Linked DNA regions of Homo sapiens: all the other regions are linked to region 3. The links are contacts of gene promoters, found by promoter capture Hi-C in blood cells and fetal thymus (Javierre and others, 2016). All regions are on one chromosome and are shown on one strand. Each heading gives the region's core, a stretch centred on a gene start or on the middle of the fragment in contact. The rest is flanking DNA. Distances are from core to core; before and after follow the strand shown. Region 1 overlaps NOVA2 (NOVA alternative splicing regulator 2). Region 2 holds the start of PGLYRP1 (peptidoglycan recognition protein 1). Region 3 holds the start of HIF3A (hypoxia inducible factor 3 subunit alpha). Region 4 holds the start of DACT3-AS1 (DACT3 antisense RNA 1). Region 5 has its middle 12 kb from the start of NANOS2.

Region 1 (2,700 bases), core at 80-2,579, 350 kb before region 3:
AGGCTACAGTGAGCTGTAATTGTGCCACTGCACTTCAACCTGGGCAACACAGTGAAACCCTGACTCAAAAAAAAAAAAAAGTCTCTGAGCCCAGAACCCAACTGACACAGTGAGACCCTATCCCCCCCAAAATAAATAAGTAAATAAAAATAACAAAATAAAAAAAATCTCTGAGCTCAGAGCCCAACCCCATGACACATGTAAGTACCAAGTATTGTTTGCATGGTTTTAAGAGCTACTGAAATTTCCAGGAACGCAACTACCAGTAAATCAAGAGCAGATTGTGCTTTGTTTTGCTCTGCACTTCACTAAAAGTTTTCATCATTTTAGAAAACCTGGCGTCAGTAGCAACAGCATTTGTATTATTTAAGTCTCCAGTATTATACTCTGGATCACTTTACATATGTAGTTGTCTCACTTAGCTATGCTTAGGTGTGAGCAGCTGCCTAATTCATTATTCCTTCTATTGTGGTCCTGACTATTTATTTACATATTAAAATTCACCTTGGCTGGGTGCAGTGACTCACACCTGTAATCCCGGCACTTTGGGAAGCTGAGGCAGGGTGAATCACTTGAGCCCAGGAGTTCAAGACCAGCCTGGGCATCATGATGAAAACCTGTCTCTAGTAAAAATACAAAAAATAGCCAGGTGTGGTGGCATCTGCCTGTGGTCCCAGCTACTTGGGAGGCTGAGGTGGGAGGATCACTTGAGCCCAGGAGGTTGAGGCTGCAGTGAGCTGTGATTGTGCCACTGTACTCCAGCCTGGGCAACAGAGCAGACCCTGTTTCAAAAACAAAACAAAACAAAAAACAAAAACAACAACAAAGAAGCAAAAAATAAAATTCATCTTGTTTTATAACAAATCACCTTCCTTTTATTTCTTCTTTATTTAAAAAAGTCTCGTGGGATAAATAAAACATGGTATATCCATACAATGGAATATTACTTGGCAATACGTTGAATGAACAAAGTACTGATACATGCTATAGCGTGGATGAATCTAGAAAAAATTATGCTAAGTGAAAGAAGCCAGTTACAAAAGACCACAGCTGAGTTCATTTACATAAATGTCCAGAATATGCAGATCCACAGAGCCAAAAAGGTAGATTAGTGGTTGCCAGGGAATGGGAGGAAGGGGATTGGGGGTAACTGCCTACAGGCATAGGATTTCTTTTGGGTAATAGATACTTTCTGGAATTAGAAAGTGTTGATGGTTGACCATATACTGTGTGATTCCTTTTACAGAAATGTCCAGAATAGGCAAATCTATAGACACAGAAAGTAGATTTGTGGTGGCTTGGGGTTAGGGAGAGGGTGAGCTGAGGTGGGAGATCGAGGGGTCATAGCTAAGATGATCAAGATTTCTTTTGGAGGCCAGGCTCGGTGGCTTATGCCTGTAATCCAGCACTTTGGGAGGCAGAGGCCAGAGACTGCTTGAGCCCAGGAATTAGAGATCAACCTGGGCAAGATGGTGAAACCTCATCTCTACAAAAAATAAAAATAAATTAGCTGGATGCAGTGGTGTGCACCTGTCGTCTCAGCTACTCAGGAGTCTAAGGGATCACTTGAGCCCAGGAGTTTGAGGCTGCAGTGAGCTATAACAGGTGCCACTACACTCCAGCCTGGGTGACAGTGCAAGACCCTGCCTCTAAAAAAAGAAAGAAAGAAAAAAAAAAGGATTTATTTTGAAGGCAGTGCAAATGTTTGAAAATGGATTGTGGCAATAGGTGTACAACTATGTGACTATAATAAAAGCCAATGAACTGTACACTTTATTTATCATGTATTTTATGTTTCTCTTTTTTTAAATAGGGTCTTGCTCTGATACCCAGGCTGGAGTGCAGTGGTGTGATCAGAGCTCACTGCAGCCTTGTACTTCTGGGCTCAAGTGATCCTCCGGCCTCGGCCTCCTAAAGTGCTGGGATTACAGGCATGAGCCCCCATACTGGGCCTAGAGCCGTGTACCTTAAAAGGGTGAGTTGTATGTGAATTATATCTCAATAAAGCTGTCAAAAAGTCTTACGGGTGTAGATATGTCTATATGTGTATATATGAATATGAATAGTATTTCAGAGAGTCAAGTGAACATGACAAAATATTTGTAGGAGAAAGGGGGTGTTGCTGTGACAGAGCTCCCCATGCTCTATTCCCTGTTGGTCTCCCTGACTTTATTATTATTATTATTATTTTTTTTTTTTTTGAGACACAGTCTTGCTCTGTCACCCAGGCTATGGTGCAGTGGCATCATCTCAGCTCAATGCAACCTCCACCTCCTGGGTTCAAGTGATTCTCAAGTGAGCCGAGATCATGCCACTGCCCTCCAGCCTGAATGACAGAGTGAGACTCCATCTAAAAAAAAAAAAAAAAAAAGGCCAGGCATGGTGGCTCATGCCTGTAATCCCAGCACTTTGGGACGCTGAGGTGGGCAGATCGCTTGAGCTCACAAGTTGTACAGCCTGGACAACATGGCAAAACCTCATTTCTACAAAAAGTACAAAAATTAACTGAGTGTGGTGGTGCATGCCTGTAGTCCCAGCTACTTGGGAGTCTGAGAAGGGAGGATGGCTTGAGCCCAAGAGGTGGAGGTTGAAGTGAGCCAAAATGGCATCACTACACTCCAGTCTGGGTGATCGAGCCAGACCTTGTGAACAAGAAAAAGGAATCTTCATTTATTCTAGAGTAAAAGAGACTAATGAGGT
Region 2 (2,700 bases), core at 102-2,601, 270 kb before region 3:
GCTCTGCGGGGGGAAGCCTCCCATGGCTCCCATCTCGGAGTAAAAGCTACAGTCCTCACTGTGGTCCACAAAGCCCTGCCTGGTCCTGCCCTTTCCTCATTTCATTCCGCTCGCCCGGCTGTGTTCAGCCACCCTGTCCTTCCCACAGGACCCGCCCACTCAACCCCGTTGGCTTTGCCCCCAGCACCCCCTGCCACCTGCAGGCCTCTGTCTGCTCCCCCATCCCAGAGCCAAGGCAGCCACTCTCAGGGAGGCTTTCCCTTGCCCCACCCTTCCAAGGAGCCTGTGTGGGTCTGGTCCCAGCCTGAGGTCACCCTCCCTCACCTCTTTCCTTTTATCCATCGCCTCTATCACCGTCTGAATTCACCTGTGGCCTTGGCTTGTTTCTCCCTGCTGGTCTTTCAACCCCAGGAGGCTAGAGTGGCACCGTTCTCCATGCCACATCTGGCACACTGCCTGGCACATAGTAGGTGCCTAATGGTAATAGCCCGTGGCTTTGCGGGCCCCCGTGTGCCAGGCAGTTCCTAGGTGCTTTGCCTGTATTGGCTCATATAAGGAGCAGATGGGCCGCGATTCCATTGACTTTGCCGAGGAGGAAGCTGAAGCCGGGAGGACCCGCCCCAGGCCTCAGCCAGCAATAAGATGAGCTGACCCTGGAACCCAGCTCCGCACTGAGTCAGCCTGGTTTTCCGCCTCCTAACAAAGGCACCAGGCATCAGGAAGGGGCGCCTTCATAAGGCGTCGCGGACACCTTGGTGTGTGTTAGGCAAAGCCTGCCCCTTCTTCCCGGGAGCGGGAGCGGGGCTTGGATTTCAGCCCATCCCCCCTTCTCACGCATCTTTGTGCTGTGAGCACCTGCCCCGGCCCACGTGGTGACCCGAGGAAGAAATGACCTTGTGAGGTTCAGTAAGCTGCTCAGGGTGTCAGCCAGGTGGCCTCAGCACCAGGCCTAGAAATGGTCCCGCTGGCGGGCACTTGCACACCTTTGCCTCTGGGATCCCCAGTCCAGCCCGTGCCCCCCTGCCACACTCACTTGTAGCCCACGTCGCACCAGCCCAGTGTCTTCATGTGGTAGTGCTGCACATTCCGGGCCTGCTGCTGGCACGAGGCGGGGGTGTTGCAGCTGCTGCCCGCCGTGTGCGATACCACCACATAGCGTAAGGGCAGGCTCAGGTGCTGGGCGCACTCTGATGCCAGGGCCTTCCACTCGTTCCGGGGCACTATGGGGCTGCAGCAGGCCGGGTCTTCTGTCTCCTGAGCCGCTCCGAGTCGAAGGAGGCTGGGGAGAGCCCAGGCAAGCAGCATAGAGCGGCGGGACATAGTGGCAGGGCGGCAGGGTCCGGGAGACCGCTAGGAGCGCCCGGTGGAGGGGCCGCCTTTATCTGCTGGGGGATTCCAGGAGTGGCCCGGAAAGTCTTGCTTCACACCCTGCTGGGACTTCCTGCTGGCCCAGCAGACCCCAGACTCAGCTTCCTTCTCTGGCTGGGCCAGGGCGGGATGCACTGTGGTTGGGGTCTGGGTCACGCCCACGGCAATGACAGGCCCCCTCGCTCAGCAGGGAGGGACGCACAGGCCCCTGGGCGCTTCGCCCCGCCGTTTCTGGAAGACCCGGGGCCGGGATCCCGGTCCTGCTTGTCTCTCCTCTCAGTGGAACATTGAACAACTCAACAGGAACTTACATCGCAGAGGCCCGGGGCATTGGCACATCTTCTCCCCGCAAGGACTGAGGTAACAAAGCTACCCATTTTAAAAACACTTCCTTCCCCCAGGTCCAAGCCTGATGCCATTTACGCTTGCAGCAAACTCAAGAGGTGAGTATCTGGAAGTCCATTTCACAGTGGAGTAAACTGAGGTTGAGAGCAGGGAAGTCACGGGCTGAGACACCGGAGGCACTGGAGCCCCGCGTCTAGAGCCAGGCTGCCTGCATGTGAATCCTGGATATGCAGTGTGTGAGAGCCTGCAAGTGGTTTTTAAAAATGTGTATTTAAAATTTTTTTTTTAATTTTCTATTTTATAAATAATATTTTCCTTTTTTTTTTTTTTTTTTTTTGAGATGGAGTTTTGCTCTTGTCACCCAGGCTGGAGTGCAATGGTGCGATCTTGGGCCACTGCAACCTCCGCCTCCTGGCTTCAAGTGATTCTCCTGCCTCAGCCTCCTGAGTAGCTGGGATTACAAGTGCACACCACCACGCCCAGCTAATTTTTATATTTTTGGTAGAGACGGGGTTTTGCCATGTTGGCCTGGCTGGTGTCGAACTCCTGACCTCAGGTGAGCCACCTGCCAGTGTTCCAGAGTGCTGGGATTACTATAGGCATGAGCCACCGTGCCTGACCTGTGTGGTGTGTTTTCATCTTCTGTGTTCTGCCTTCTCATATACATTGTACTCATGCTGTTACTGAATTGTGCACCAGGCATCTGTAGCACTTTTCAGAAATTATCATATACTCAACGACAAGCTTGCCAGATCCATGTTATTATTAACCCCTCTTACAGTTGACGGAACTGAGGCCCGGGGGGATGATCACATACAGGAGGTGATGAAGCCAGGGTTTGGCTACAGGCTTTCTGCCTGCAGAGTTATAAACCGTATTCTCCTCCCTACAAACTTATATAAGGACATTAAAAAAAAAAATCAAAACCATGTGCATCAATTTACCTTTTGTCACCTAATATTTCATGGGCATCTCACCAGGGCAGTA
Region 3 (2,700 bases), core at 42-2,541:
CAGCAAATGTCTCAGGGTTGATTCTCATTGGGCTAAATTAGGTAACATGCCTTCCCTGAACCAATCACTGTGGCCAGGGAAGCAGACTCAACTGATTAGCCAGGTTTGGATCCTATGTCCATCCCTGGAGCTGGTGAAGGCAGAGCAGTGGCCAAGCCCTATTCAAATTAAATAGATGAAGAGGACAGAGAAGTGGTTTCCCAAAAGAAAACAGAGTGGGGAACTGGCGTGAGCCGGGGAGCCGTGTGGATTCCTGGAGGAAGAGTGTGCTAAGCTGTGGGAACAGCAAGTGCAAAGGCCCTAAGGTGAGCAACTTGCCTGGCAAGTTCAAGGTTCAACAAGGCCACTTCTGCTGTAGTATCCTCTTCCCTGCCAACCAAATCCAGAATAGTGGTCCAACACACACACACACACACACACACACACACACTCTGTTCCTTATCCAACTGTAATGCTTTCACCCTTGCTTGGTACCTTTGTACTTCTCCCTTCATAGTCGACTAGTTAAAAAAAAATACATTTCTCGGCTCTTTTTTGAAGTAGGTGTGATTGAGTTAAAACATATTTACTTGACATAAGCTTAATTATTCATCAATGGGAACCTGAAAAGGGAGTCAGAGAGGCCAAGAGGTTAGGGTGGAGTAGAGGGGGTAGGGAAGGTAAGCTGGGGTGCAGAGGGTGCAGACTGGAGGAATGGGGGCGAAGTGGGGTATGGGACTGGGGTGGCAGGGAGGGGCTGGGGAGAGAGAGAGAAGGGTAGGTGCCAGAGGGCCAAGGATTGTGGAACTGGGGTGGGGTTGGGAGTTGGGGGGTGGGGAGGAGATGTGGGGTACTCTGTGAATACCTTAGAAGGGATAGAGAAGGCAGGGCTAGGGGTTTGGAAGGGGTGGGATTGGAGGTCAGAGGGGCTCAACTGGGGTTAGGAAATGGAAAGGTGAGAAGAGGTGGGGGTTAGAGGCTGGGGACTGGGGTCCAGAGAGCAGAGTGAACTGAGTGGGTTCAGAAGAGTACTGGCGTTGGCACTTCAGAGGCTGGACTAGAGAAGGCGCGTTCAGCCGACGGTGCGGGATACACTGCCGAGGAAGTCCGCGGCGAGGGGCGTGGTTGGGGGGTGTGTATTACACGGTATCCCCCCCTTGCCTTTCCAAGTCTTTCCCTCTGGTTCCGCCTCCTTTTCAGGAGTGACATACCGTTGCCCAATCAGAGCCTCAGGCCTGGCGTGGCACAGCCAACCGCGCGGCGTGGGGAGGAGCTGGGGAGGGGGCTCGCAAGGCCGGGGAGGGGGCTAGGGGCCTCCGAGGGCTCCGGAGCGGCGACTGGCGAGCCATGGCGCTGGGGCTGCAGCGCGCAAGGTACTGAAGTTCGGGGGCAGGAGTTCTGGGAATTGGGGGGCTCTCCTCCTGGAGACCCCTGAGCTGGATTGTTGGGGGGGGTGGGGTTCGCGGGTGCGAGCCAAGAACGCCCCGGGGCGCGCAGTTGGAGGCACATCCCCACCGCACTCTCCACCCTTAGGGACTGCAGGGGTGGGGGATTCCCTACGTCTCTGGCTGCCCCGCCCCTCTGGCCAAGAGCGGCTTCGGGGTTCCCGATTTCTCGCTACCCAAGGCTCATTTACCCTCCTGGTTGGGGGTGGAACTTGGGATTCCTGATAAATTAGGGGTGATTGCATTTGAGCAGTCCCCAGGCTTCTGCGGGAGATATTCGCCCTCCACATATTGATCCCTCTGGCCTCTGAACCCCCCAAAATTGAGGGTATTCTTTGCCACCAGGTGCCTGGGATCCTAGGTGATATGGGATACCCCTAAATGGAGCCTTCCCACATATAGGGAGTCCCTTGGAATGGCATTCAGCTCCTGAGTTCAAGAGAGGAGAGATCTCCTCTAATAGTATGCTTCCTGACACAGTCTCCTAAACATTGGGTTTCCCTAGAAATGGGCAGAGGGGAGCCCCTTTCAGAAGCCGTCTGGGACCCTTCCCAAGAGACTTTTTGTATCCTTTCAAAAGCCAGAGTCACCCCCTTAAATAACAGGGAAACAAGCTGGACCCACTTCCCAAAGTCCAGCCCCTCATCTCACCCCTGCACCCCCATCCTGAGAGACAGGGGAGCCTCATCCAAGCTTTATTTTGGGGAGACTCCATGGCAGGGTGCTGTGAGCCTGCAGGCTGTGATGGGAACGCCCCCTGCCGCAGTACTCAGATGGGGTCATCCCGGGCAGAGGGTGGGTTTCTGGGTTCACTTGCCCAGCAGGTGCAGCTCTGCTGGAACACAGGGGAACCTGTGCCCTGGGGCCGCTGCCGGGGGGTTTTATCTGGCCATGTTCCCATGGGACCCTGGAAAATGTTCTAGGTCCTCAGCTTTCCCTGTCCAATGTGAGGCACCCAGTAAGCCTCACCCCCTTCCCTCCTCCCTGGCTTCTCAGGCCTGATTGGATCCATGCACACCCCATGTTTCTAACCGCCCCCATCCTCTCCCCTGTCCCCTACTCTATTCCAGGCCCTGGCTCTGGGCCTAACAAGGAACTCTATCCCACCCCTTTTGGGCCAGCTGTCGTTCCGCCCCTCTCAGCGCCCCCTCCTGGCTGGGTGGGGGCCCCTCTTGGCTGAGCTCGGGTGCCCCCCCTCCCCACCCAAGGCCGGCCCTTTCCTGTGGAGTCATCTCACCGCCGTGCGCACCCACTCGTAACTCGCACCCGGGTCCTG
Region 4 (2,700 bases), core at 67-2,566, 360 kb after region 3:
GCTGGGGGTGGGGGGATAAGTCATAAGACAAGGGTTGGGGGATCAGAAGAAGCCCTAATCCACTCTTCAGAGGGACCCAGGAACCCCCAGCACTAGAGAAGTTTATATTTAGCGCTTCTCTGCTCCTCCTCCTCCCCCCGCCTGCCACCGCCTCCTCCCTGATGCTGGGACAAGCTTTGCCTAGAGACTGGGGGGTGGGGGGACAGGCCTCTCCACTATCAGCTCGTGCCGGGAGGACAGAGGGCTGAGGGGGAGGAGGGGACAGAGGGACCGAGGAGAGGGAGACTGAAGGGCAGAGATGGGGAAGGTGAAGGGTGAAAAGGGGAGAGACCGAGGGCAGAGGGGGAGAGGACACAGCTACCCACAGCTACCCCAACCTCATGCCTCGCATTCTCCTTGTCAGGATGGAAGGCGCCTTCCAAGCCGAGCCAGCTTGGGGTGGGGGGAGCTAGCGAAGGCCCCCACAATCCGTCTCTAACTTTGGGAGGGGGTGGGGCCTCCCACAGCTGTTTCTGTTTCCAGAAAAGAATGTGCAGGGGGGTCCCACTCCTGAGAGGGGGAGGGGCCGGGCGTGCAGCCCCGGGAGCCTGGCTTCAGTCTTCCTCCCCACTCCCCATCTGGGGAGGGGGCGGTCGAGGTCAGCGGCGGGGAGAGCCCCCTCCACTGCCACCTCGGCTCAGGTTTCCCGAAACGGGAAGCTCTGGCCACACACAGGCTTGGGGATGGGGATCTGCCGTGGAGCCAGGGTGTGCGGGCTGGGGGGAGGGGAAGACAGACTGAGCCTGGGACGTCGGGCAAGAAGAAGAGAGCGAGGTGCAGACAGGCAGGAAGGGAAGGCCAAGGAGACAGATGCAGAGGGACACAGAGATCACAGAGACAGAGAGACAGGATGAAGAAAGAGAAGCAGACACAGAAAGTCACAGGGATGTGGCAGGACGGAGAGAGTGACAGAACCCAGGACGAGATCGGGAGACTCAAGGAATGACATAGAAAGGGGAGAGGCATGGGGCGTCCTCAAGTCATTCCGGAGACCTCTGCCCATCTTCCACCATGAGAACACCCAGAGTCCAGAAGTCTCCCCCAGGCGCTGCCTCGACCTGCCTCCCCTTGGGTCAAGGAGAGCTGGGGCCAGGTAGGAAGCAGGGGAAGTGTCACCAAAGGGTCAAGATCCCAGTGGGGGGTCCTCAGGGACTGTGAGCTTCCTCTCAGCAGTGGTCCCTCCCTCTGGAGGCCCTGAGATTCCCCTCCTCCCACCCCGCCCCCTCCAGAGATCTCCAAGCACACCAGGACTTAGGGAAGATGGAGCCCTGGTGGCGGGGCCCAGAGAAGGGCATGTTTGGAGCCTGGCTGTGTCACCTTGGGTGAGTCGCTTGCTCTCTCTGAGCCTCAATTTGTTTCTCTGTTAAATGGGGACTATCACCCCGTTTCCCAAGCCGCAAGAAGACAACGCCTGCAAAGTACCCGGTCTCGGGTTTGACACATACTTGGCGCCCACAAGGATTTTCTTTGGGGAAGGGGTGTAAGAGACAGGGCCTGTGTTTCTCACGAGGCCCCAGTGGGGGCGATGCAGTTCCCCCTCCCCCGATTTGGGGGCGGGGAGGCCAGGTCCGGCCCGCCGCCGGAACTCCGGGGTCGCCAGCCCCACCCCCTGTCCTTTCTCACTCCCTGCCTACCCGGGTCCCCAACCCCCGCCCGGTGTCTGAGCATCCAACCGAGACAGACAGACACAGACGGGGGTGGAGGGACGGACGGACAGGCAGCCCCTTACCAGCTGCTCCTCCAGGGCCGCTGCGGCCCGGCGCGCCGCCGCCGCATCTTCATCCTCATCGGCGTCCTCCTCGTCCTCGGCCTCGGCGCCCCCCATTCCGGGCTGGGCCAGCCGCAGCGCCTGCTGCACGCGGTACTCCTGCCTCTCCCGGAGCCAATGTAACTCGCAGAGCCCGGCCAGGCTACCCTCCAGCCAGCCCCGCAGCCGGCCCCGCTCAGGGCTCACCGGGAACGAGAAGGCCCGGATCATGGCTGCGGCCCCCCGCCCCAGCCCGGCCGGGCCCCGCGGCCACCCCTCTCCCGGTCCCACCTCCCCGCCCCAGCAGCCTGCCCGCCCGCCCGCTGGCCGGGCTGTCACCGTCTCATCTGCATAGGCGCCCGCCCATTGGGCCGCCCACCCGCGCCTTATCTGCATGGCCACGCCCCCGGCGACCGAGCAACAGCCGCCTATTGGCGAATAAGCTTCCTGACGAAGACTCTCGGGCGTGCAACCGCACCGCCCAACACGACGCATGCTCGCAACTGCCTACTCACTCCGCTCGCCACGCCCCCTCCGTGCAACTGCCTCGGGGCCCTGGCCACGCCCCCCCACGCGTCACAATGAAACAAGCCCGCCCTTGCTTCAATGCCATTGGTCTGTGCCTGGCCGGTCCTGCAGCAGGTTCCACCCTCTTGCGGGCGAGCGCTGGCTACCATTGGACTGTCCGGCGCGAGGGGAAGGGTGATCTATAAATAGGGAATGGGTACACGTGACAGTTTGGCAGCTGCTCCTACCCCTCCACCCCGCCCAACCTTCAGCTTCTGAGGCTGCGCAGGGGGAGAAAAGGGTTAGGGGGTCGAGCCCTGACTTCGCCTCCTCTTCCAAGAAGCCTTCCCAGACACTCAGCTGTAAAACCAGACGGACGTCCTCCGATGAAATTGTTTCTACTTAGG
Region 5 (2,700 bases), core at 177-2,676, 370 kb before region 3:
TTATTTTCAGTGGAGATGAGGTTTTGCCATGTTGCCCAAGCTGGTCTCAAACTCCTAGACTCAAGCTTCTCAACGTGCTGTGATTACAGGTGTGAGCCACCATGACTCATGACTGTTTTAATACTGGTGTCTGATCTCCCAGCATCTAAAGTCTGAGCCACACCTTTTCTGTTCTTTTGATTCTTATTGGTGTCATATTTCCCTGTGACCTGATTATGTCGGCCTGATGATTATTGACCTTTGCATTTTTTTTTTTTTTTTTTTTTTTTTTAGTGGAGTCTCCCTCTTTTGCCCAGGCTGGAGTGCAGGGGCGTGATCTTGGCTCGCCACAACCTCCACCTCCTGGGTTCAAGCGATTCTCCTGCCTCAGTCTCCGGAGTAGCTGGGATTACAGGTGCGTGCTACTACGGCTGGCTAATTTTTGTATTTTTAGTAGAGACGGAGTTTCACCATGTTGGCCAGGCTGGTCTCGAACTCCCAACCTCAAGTCATCCGCCTGTCTCGGCCTCCCAGAGTGCTGGGATTACAGGTGTGAGCCACCGCGCCCGGCCGACCTTTGCATTTAACTGGGGAATTTCCCCTGGGCCTGAGTTGAATGCATGGATTCCAGGGTCTGTGTTTGCTTTGGTTAGGCACCCCTCAGACACTTCCAGTTACAGCCTCTCCAAACATGGTTCTGGTTTCTTGTTCCTTGACTCATCCAGTTATCTACACTGGGGGTGTCAACACTGTTCTTGGGCCATTCTGAAGCCACAACTTCTCAGGGACTTTTTTTTCTTCCTTATCCCATTCTGCTCAGTGTTGATGCTGCTACCTTTGGAGTTGGGACTTGGAGTTGGGACAGGGACAGGTTTAGGTCTGGCTCGAACTCACTCAGCAGAAAGCACTTTGGGGTCCCAGCTTAGTGAAAGGAGGGTCTTTCTTTGCACTTCCTATCTAAGCCAGGCCCTGGAGGCCACAGTACTGAAATCCAATCATATGCTCCCAGCAAACCCGTTGAAGAAACAACCACCTTTTTTGTGTTCTTCTAGCCACCCTGTTTACACTGCACATTTTACAGGTGTTATGTCCTGTCTTTGCATTTCATCAGTGCTTTCTTTTAACTTTTTATTTGGAGAGAATTGTAAAGTCACAAGTTGTCATAATAAATAATGGAGATCTTCGTGTCCTTTCCTCAGTTTTCCCTGATGGTAACATTTTCCACAACTGTAGTACAATACCACAACCAAGATATAGACATCGATACAATCCACTGATGTTGTTCAGATTTTACACTTATTTGTACTCATTTGTGTGTGTGTACTTGTTTTTTGTTTGTTTGTTTGTTTGTTTTTTGAGAGAGAGTCTCGCTCTGTCTCCAGGCTGGAGTGCAGTGGCACGATCTCGGCTCACTGCAACCTCCACCTCCTGGGTTCAAGCGATTCTCCTGCCTCAGCTTCCTGAGTAGCTGGGATTACAGGCGCCTGCCACCGCGCTCTGCTAATTTCTGTATTGTCAGTAGAGACAGGGTTTCACCATCTTGGCCAGGCTAGTCTTGAACTCCTGACCTCGTGATCCACCCGCCTTGGCCTCCCAAAGTGCTGGGATTACAGGCGTGAGCCACTGCGCCCGGCCAATAAATGTATTTTTTTAAATGACTAGGTACCTCCTGAGAAGGATGCAGCTCCATTTCCCTACAGTTGGAAGCTCATTGGTTAAGAGAAAGAACAGTGAAGAGAAAATGGGGTTGAGATGGCCGCAGCTTTCTGGAGAGTAAAGCTGAGTGGTCAATTACTTCTGGCCAACTGAGGGCCCTACTCTGCTCCAAACCGAAACCATAATCCCCCACTGTGGCCACTCCAACTCTAGCCAGTAACTCACCGGTCTCTTTCGGTTCACGTTGCCTACCTGGAGGTGCTTGATCTTTCCACCTGCAGGGAGAGCAGCTGAGAAATGCCAAAGCATGGGTCCTGTTCCTGGCTTGTCTGTGGAACTACGGGACACCCATGTCTTACCTCTCCCTCCTCTTCTTCCTTAGGGATCTGAGCTTCTGGTTCAGCTGAGAGTGGGGTGAAGGTCAAGAGGGAGATCCCCGATAGTAAGGTTGGAACTGAGGATGAGGATAATGGTGAGGCAGGGGGCTATGAGAATTGGCACTGGTCATACAGGTGGTGACCAAGAAAAAGGACAGAGAAGGCCATAGAGATGGAAGAATTGAAATAAAACGAGCGTGGGGGCCAGGCACGGTGGCTCGCCTGTAATGCCAGCACTTTGGGAGGCCGAGGCAGGTGGATCACCTGAGGTCGGGAGTTCGAGACCAGCCTGGCCAACGTGGCAAAACCCCATCTCTACTAAAAATACAAAAATTAGCCGGGCGTGGTGGTGGGTGCCTGTAGTCCCAGCTACTCGGGAGGCTGAGGCAGGAGAATCGCGGAGGTTGCACTGAGCCGAGATCGCGCCATTGCACCCCAGTCTGGGCGACAGAGCGAGACTCTGTCTCAAACTAAACAAAAACAAAAACAAATTCTGGAGAGTGAAAAAGATGGGGGGGAAAATCAAACCAAGGAGACAGAACACACACGAAGACAGCAAGTGAGATTATACATGCACGTAAAAACAGAGATGGACAGAGAGAGAGGGCGTGCAACCACGTGGAGGAGGTGTGGCGCCTCTCAACATCTATTCCACTCTCCTAGCGCACCTTCCTGCGACTGCAGCGGC

The links. The method cuts DNA at HindIII sites, captures the fragments that hold promoters and counts their contacts. A CHiCAGO score of 5 or more calls a contact.
Region 1: a fragment that was not itself captured here is called in contact with the fragment with the promoter of HIF3A in region 3 in 2 of 17 cell types (M1 macrophages and M2 macrophages); the score reaches 8.7 in M1 macrophages.
Region 2: the fragment with the promoter of PGLYRP1 here is called in contact with the fragment with the promoter of HIF3A in region 3 in 3 of 17 cell types (M2 macrophages, M1 macrophages and M0 macrophages); the score reaches 8.8 in M2 macrophages.
Region 4: a contact is called between the fragment with the promoter of DACT3-AS1 here and the fragment with the promoter of HIF3A in region 3, in 2 of 17 cell types (erythroblasts and M0 macrophages). The highest score is 6.5, in erythroblasts.
Region 5: a contact is called between a fragment that was not itself captured here and the fragment with the promoter of HIF3A in region 3, in 1 of 17 cell types (M1 macrophages). The highest score is 5.4, in M1 macrophages.

Annotation. Positions count from the first base shown.
Region 1 is chr19:45,943,652-45,946,351 of GRCh38, forward strand. All of the region lies in intron 3 of NOVA2 (NOVA alternative splicing regulator 2), which reads right to left. Among named protein-coding and RNA genes, the nearest start is that of NOVA2, 29 kb to the right of the region's middle. The HindIII fragment of the contact is 6,111 bases long and covers 1-2,700 here.
Region 2 is chr19:46,021,702-46,024,401 of GRCh38, forward strand. PGLYRP1 (peptidoglycan recognition protein 1) reads right to left here and starts at 1,352. Exons shown (of 3, transcript NM_005091.3): 1 at 1,034-1,352. The coding sequence starts at 1,320. RefSeq lists an enhancer at 1-845. The HindIII fragment of the contact is 5,413 bases long and covers 1-2,455 here.
Region 3 is chr19:46,295,751-46,298,450 of GRCh38, forward strand. HIF3A (hypoxia inducible factor 3 subunit alpha) reads left to right here and starts at 1,292. Exons shown (of 15, transcript NM_152795.4): 1 at 1,292-1,352. The coding sequence starts at 1,327. The HindIII fragment of the contact is 1,538 bases long and covers 578-2,115 here.
Region 4 is chr19:46,659,048-46,661,747 of GRCh38, forward strand. It overlaps DACT3-AS1 (DACT3 antisense RNA 1), which reads left to right and starts at 1,317. Exons shown (of 3, transcript NR_040042.1): 1 at 1,317-1,361. DACT3 (dishevelled binding antagonist of beta catenin 3) reads right to left here and starts at 2,135. Exons shown (of 4, transcript NM_145056.3): 1 at 1,769-2,135. The coding sequence starts at 2,017. RefSeq lists silencers at 1,933-2,182, 2,393-2,512. The HindIII fragment of the contact is 2,055 bases long and covers 173-2,227 here.
Region 5 is chr19:45,925,122-45,927,821 of GRCh38, forward strand. No RefSeq gene overlaps it. Among named protein-coding and RNA genes, the nearest start is that of NANOS2, 12 kb to the left of the region's middle. RefSeq lists enhancers at 1,845-2,345, 2,651-2,700. The HindIII fragment of the contact is 2,727 bases long and covers 64-2,700 here.